Linked DNA regions of Homo sapiens: region 2 is linked to region 1. The links are contacts of gene promoters, found by promoter capture Hi-C in blood cells and fetal thymus (Javierre and others, 2016). All regions are on one chromosome and are shown on one strand. The core of a region is centred on a gene start or on the middle of the fragment in contact, and the rest is flanking DNA. Distances in the headings are between cores, read along the strand shown. Region 1 holds the start of CDC42BPG (CDC42 binding protein kinase gamma). Region 2 overlaps ATG2A (autophagy related 2A).

Evidence for each region. The method cuts DNA at HindIII sites, captures the fragments that hold promoters and counts their contacts. A CHiCAGO score of 5 or more calls a contact.
Region 2: a fragment that was not itself captured here is called in contact with the fragment with the promoter of CDC42BPG in region 1 in 16 of 17 cell types (naive CD4 T cells, M0 macrophages, megakaryocytes and 13 more); the score reaches 10.3 in naive CD4 T cells.

Annotation. Positions count from the first base shown.
Region 1 is chr11:64,842,856-64,845,921 of GRCh38, forward strand. CDC42BPG (CDC42 binding protein kinase gamma) reads right to left here and starts at 1,798. Exons shown (of 37, transcript NM_017525.3): 1 at 1,555-1,798. The coding sequence starts at 1,714. RefSeq lists enhancers at 142-436, 461-1,273 and silencers at 1,488-1,537, 1,568-1,617, 1,628-1,977. The HindIII fragment of the contact is 2,728 bases long and covers 1-2,526 here.
Region 2 is chr11:64,894,809-64,897,854 of GRCh38, forward strand. ATG2A (autophagy related 2A) reads right to left here. Exons shown (of 41, transcript NM_015104.3): 35 at 3,031-3,046; 36 at 2,863-2,935; 37 at 2,604-2,686; 38 at 1,940-2,061; 39 at 1,654-1,808; 40 at 482-634; 41 at 1-401. The coding sequence ends at 165. Among named protein-coding and RNA genes, the nearest start is that of MIR6750, 2.1 kb to the right of the region's middle. The HindIII fragment of the contact is 4,812 bases long and covers 1-3,046 here.

The DNA.
Region 1 (3,066 bases), core at 548-3,047:
GGAGGTAAACTCCCTGCCAGCTGGGCGGGTCTGTGGGTGGGACAGAGAGCTGTTCCACAGGTTTATCAGGCAGAAGCCCGCAGCGGGGGCGGGGTGGAAACCTCATTACAGAAATTCATTGTCTCTTTCCCAGGTCTGTGTGTGGAGCTGGGGAGGAGCAGCCCCGGGCCTCCCCGTGGGAGTTGAAGCCAGCACCATAGGGACCCACCCGCCAGAAGAGGGCCGAAGCCCAGGCCCACAGGCAGGAGGATCCAGGCCCCTGGACAGGCTGCCTAATCCTCTGGCCTCCCACAGGGCATGGGGGCTCCGGGCAGGAGCAGGGACAAGTAGAGACAAGCAGGAGAGGAATGAGTCACAGCCCTTTGAGTTACCTTGGGAGATTGTCAACAGAGGGCCCCCATGCCGGGGTCCCAGGCAGAGGTGCTGGAGGCAGTCAGGGAGGAGCACACATGTGTGTGCAAACACACACACGTGTGTGGGTGTCATGGGGGGGGTGACAACAACACAGGCAGACAGGCATAGCACGGAGGCATACCAGGGAGACAGGCACAGAGGCAGGGGCCTCTGACTGCCTCGCCCTGGATGGAAGGGTTGGGGCTAGGGGACAACTCCCTGGCACATCTAGGTGGCAGCCTCCCCCTCTACCCCAGGCCTTGTGCCTTCCCAGAGCTCAGGAGTGCCAGGAACGCTAGTTGCCCACTGGGCAAACACCTGCCTCACCCCGCCCTGGCCAGGCCCCCGTGCCTTTTCCCCATGGCCCGGCAGGGTGTGACCAGGGAACCCTCCAGCTGGCGCCAGTGCCCACAGTGGGTTCAGGGTCACCCCGGGCCAGCCACTCCCAATGACTCAGATGAGTCTACCAGGAAAGGTACAGACCCATCTCCAGCTAGGCCCCCCTCCCCGGCCCCGGCGCCACAGCCCCCAAGGAGCTTGGCCAGCAGCCTGCACAGGCCAAGGGTTGGAGATCGGTTCCTGAGTCCAGGCTGCAGTGGTCTTGTACCCAGGGAGCTGGGGGTGTGTGTGTTGGTGGGGGGAAGGTCTGCAAGTGTGCGATACCTACAGATCTGTGTGTTTTGCAGTGCCAATGCGGTCGGGGTGGTCTGCAGCGCTCCCTGGGTCTCTCCATGAGTTGTGTGTCTCAATGCATCCGAGAGGAAGGAGAAACAGAGCCCGTGTATCAGTGGGTGACATGCATGAGGGTCTGTGTGTGTCCTGCGTCAGGTGTGGCCTGTAAGCAAGGAAATCTGTAAGGGACTCTAGGCGGTGCACTGGGTACATGCGTCTGCGGTCGATACCTGAGCACAAGTTGGTATGTGTGTGCATGTGTCGGGGTCTGTGAGAGGGAGAGAGCGTGTGTGAGAATTGGAGTGAGGGTGAGGTGTGCAGGCGAGTGTGCGGGCCGCGGGGGTCCGGTGGTACGCGTCAGGGCCACTGCAGGGAGTCTGCGAGGGAAGCCCGTGGGGGTGCGGGTCCCTGCGGGAAAGTCTGCGGGTGCGGGGGTCTCGGCGCGATATCCCTAGGCCCGCCCCCGCTCCGTGCCGCCCCGCCACTCACCCCAGCTCAGGAACTGCGCCACGCTGCGCTCCCGCCGTAGGGGGCCGCTGCTGAGCTCGTGGTGCAGCGCCAGCAGCAGATCTAGGAGGCCGTCGAGCCCCGGGCAGCCGCCGGCCTCGCCCCGCGCCAGCTGCTCCAGCGCGCGCAGCCGCCGCTCCATGGCTGCGGCCGGAGCCTCGCTGCTCGGCTACAGTCTGGCCGCCCGCATGCCCGCCTGTCGGGCCGTCCGTCCGCCCAACCGTCTGAGGCTCTGTCCGCGCGTCCTCCCCCGCCCCTCTCCCGCCCTCCCCGCTGTCACCTTCCTCCGCCGCCGCCAGCGCGCCCTCACCTGGGCGCCGCGCCCCGCCCCCCGACGGACGGGCAGGTGCGCGCCGGCCAATGGGAGCCGCGGCTAGAGGTGAAGGTGGGGGCGGAGGCGCGCGGGGGCGGGCCCAACTCCCGGCCAGGAAGTGCGGGGGCGGGCCGGGGAGAACAACTGACTTCTGCGCGGGGCGCGGTGGGGTTCTGCGGGGTCGGAAAGACTCCCCAGATCCCCGCGCGGCCCCAGACCCAGACTTACCTGGGCCCTCCCTGGGCCCTGACCCAGGAGGCGCGGAGCACTGCAACTTCTCTCGCCCCCTGGGTCGCAGCCGCCTTGCCCTTGGCTAAGAGAGAGGGGCTAGGGACGCCCGCGGCCCCGGAGCCGGATGGGAATTGTAGTTCGCTCTCTCCATGGTTTGCCCGCGCTTGGCACCCATCGCCCCCCCGCCCCCGCCCAAAAAAAAGTTTCTGAATCTTACTTTGATTGTATCATTAGAGTTGATGTGGGAGACAGGAAGTTGGGGTAGGGATGGTCACGCCCATTTGGCAGATGGACACACTGAGGCTTGGGAAGGAGGAAGGCGAATTGAGGGGCTGAGGACAAGGTGGCTCTTAAGTTAGACCCTGGGGTGGAGGTGGAGCTGGGCTGGTACCAACACCACAGGCGTTTTAAGCTTCAGTAGGAGCAGGGCCTGAGGTCTGACCTGGAACGTGAAGGGCAAGGAGAGGTCTGAGATAGGCTGGAGGAGGTTGGGGAGGGGAGGGGCTGGCTCTGTCCAGTGGTATTTCTGATTTCTGTCCAGCTGGGATGGACCAGGCACCATGAGGAGAGATCAAAGGGTGGGACATATTGGTGGCTTCAGACAACACTTTTTTTTTTTTTTTTTTGAGACAGGGTCTCTCTGTCACCCATGCTGGAGTGCAGTGATGCAATCATAACTCACTGCAGCCTTGACCTCTTAGGCTCCTGCCTCAGCCTCTTGAGTAGCTGGGATTACAGGCAGATGCCACCACACCCAGCTGATTTTTTATTTTACTTTTTGGAGTCAAGGGTTATTGTTATGTTGACCAGGCTGGTCTCGAACTCCTGGGCTCAGGTAATCCTCCCACCTTGGCCTCCCGGAGTTCTGGGATTACAGACATGGGCAACTACACCCGGCCTAGACAACACTTCTTTCTCTTTTTTGAGACAGGGTCTCACTCTGTCCCCTA
Region 2 (3,046 bases), core at 372-2,871, 52 kb after region 1:
GAGGCCCCCCTCTCACAGCAGATTGGCAACGGGCAGGCTGGGAAGGCGTCCTTCACAGTGGCCATCCCCTGAAGGGCCAGGCCGGGCCGGGCCCGTGGGCTGCAGCTCTTGGGAGGCTCAGGAGCATGGTGGGCAGCACCCTCTGGGTGCCGGGCACCCCAGGCTCAGTCTTGGGCACTGTCCGAGCGCCACTTGAGGGCGTGGTCCTTGTGGGCGTCGGGGACAATCTGGTTGCGCATGCCCCCGAGCAGGCTGGACGTGGCCTCCGTGGCCAGGATGAGCGGCTTCACCACAGTCGGGGGCAGCTGGCGGATCACGCCCCCCACGGCGCCCGTCAGCCCCTTCTGCTCATGGCCCCGCGATGCCACGTCACAGATGGTCTGAGCTGTATCCAAGATGCCCTGTGGAAGCCAGAGGTCAGGGCGGGGTCTGTGTGAGGAGATGGGCATGGGGGACTGGGGCAGGGCGGGGGCCTGGTCACCTCTCGCACTGTGTCGTAGGCCTTGGCCACACCCTCCCGCAGGTCGGCAGGCTGCTGGCCCCTGCGCAGCCTCCGCGCAGAGCGCTTATCCTGCAGGGAGCGGGAGACGGGGGCTGCCGGGGACAGGATGTCATACACGGTCTCAGCTGTGGCCTGGGGGACATGGGAGCACTGGATGAGGACAGCTGGCTGGGGCACACGTCAGCCCCAGGCCCCCAGGACAGTCTGAGACCCCACCAGCCCTCAGCCTCCCTGCCTGTCACTGTGCTGGCCTAGGGGGTCCTGCTCAGCCTCACTCCCCACTTCCTCCCACTCTTCCTCCCCTTCCTAGGCACCTGCCACTCTGCTGAGGGAACCTAGGAACGTGGGACTCCTCAGGGGACTTTCCTAAAGTCTTCTCAACCCAAACCTCTCTTCCTGCTGACCACCACATTCAGCAGGTTCCACATGGCTGCCGCAGCTGCACGCCTGAGACTGACCGCTCCTTGCCTGGCCCCCCAGACGCCCCTGCCAGATGGTCAGAGGCCCATCCTTCCTTCTGTCTGCCAGATCCTCTGCCCAGCATCTCACCTGGCATCACTCTTTCCCACCTGACTGAACACTCCCGGGGGCTCCCTGGTGCCCATGCATCCCTCCCACCTCCCCTGGAGCCCTGCCCTCTGTCCTGTTGGGGTCTGAGCTTGCAGGTTCCAGAATGCACCATGCACCTGCACTCACCCCTTAGCCGCCTAGGACCATCGATCCCCTACAGAATTCATCTGACAACTGCCCACGAGACTGGCTCCCCAGCTTCCCTGGGGTCCTTCTGGCCTAGCGAAGCGTATGGCCTGAATGAACCAGGGCAGCCTCTGCGCCTCAGATTCTTAGTCTGCAAACACAGCCGTCCTCCACCCCCCTTTACAAGACATGCCATGAGCAGGAGACACAGTGGGCTCTGAAGGCCTGGGGGGCACTCCCGCTCCTGCATGGGAGCCCCTGTGGGCCTCGGGAGACCTGGCTTGGAGGTCCCAGGCAAGTCACTTAGCCTCTCCGTGGCTGTTTCTCTATAAAGTAGGGCTGTCATACCCAGACTGCCCACTCTGAGGAGCTTTGAGGACAGAACCAGGGAGCTGTGGTGCAGAGGGCTCCAGCTGCTCTGTCCTGCACAGCCCAGATACAGGGCACCCACTCACCTGGATAGCCTGTACCAACCGGTTGCTGAGTTCCAGGGCGGCAGAGGCTGTGGATGAGCCAAAGGAGGCAGCCCCTCGCTGCAGCCCCCGCATGAGGCGGCCATCCTTCCTGTACTGCTCAATGGGCAGCCACAGCAGGTCCCGGAACCCTTGGACTAGGGGGAAGGAGCGCTCAGAGACACCCGAGGCTGCCCTGCCCCCACCTCCTCCTCTTATTCCCAATGGCAGCTTCTAGGTTGCCCAAGGGTAAAAGCAGTTTCGAGGGCTTCCAAACCTAGACACTCACAGAGCTGGACAACCGAGTGCATGGGGCCCACGCCTCCCAGCAGGCCGGGCAGCTGGTTCTTGCGGATGTCCTGCAGCCACTCGTTGAGGGCATAGCCCAGCACCTTGTCCACACCCAGGAGCCTGGCAGGGCAGGGAGGTGAGGAGGCAGAAGGTGAGGCAGAGCCACACATGGAGGGATTGTGGGGTCAGGAGGACTCAGTACCCCTGTGGCAAGTACTGTGGGCACTCTACCCTCCCTGTGGTCCCACCCAGTCATGTGCAGAGGGACTGTGTCCTTTTTTTTTTTTTTTAGATGGAGTCTTGCTCCGTTGCCCAGGCTGGAGTGAAGTGGTGCGATCTTGGCTCACTGCAACCGCCTCCCAGGTTCAAGCAGTTCTCCTGCCTCAGCCTCCTGAGTAGCTGGGATTACATGTGTATGCCACCACGCCTGGCTAATTTTTGTATTTTTAGTAGAGACGGGGGGGTTTCACCATGTTGGTCAGGCTGGTCTCGAATGCCTGAATGTGTGAGCCATCATGCCCAGCCAACTGCGTCCTTTTTACAGAGGAGAAACTGAGGCCCTGAGAAGGGTGATGACTTGGCCAAGGCCACACAACCAGTCAGGACCAGAACAGAAGGAAGATCAGGGACCCTGGAGAGAGGCTGGGGTGCTGGGGACTCACCCGTGCCTGCAACAGAGCCGCTTTAGCTTCAGCTCGGAGCAGTTGAGTTGGGCCAGGCCGATGAGGAGGCCAGCAAAAGTGCCCTGGGAGAGGGAGGGGGTCCAGGTTTACCCAATGGGACTCAGGGAGCTAGCTAGCCCATGGGAGCCACTGGAGAGCGCCCTGGCTGCTAACAGTGCCTGGATGCAAGACCTGGCCCCCAGAGGGACTCAGCCACAGCTGACCCCACATGGCCACCCCATCCGACCGCCCCACTTACCACCTGGTCCATCGTGACGTGCTTGCCATGGTAATCCAGCCAGATGGGGACCTCAGACGTGAAGCGGAACTCTCTGGGTAGGGGAGCAGGAAGAGGGGGTTCTTTGCTCACTGGCCTGGCCCCCAGCAATCTGGCCCAGGGCCCCCCACCCGCAGTCCAGCAGCCTACCTGAAGTAGATGGGCT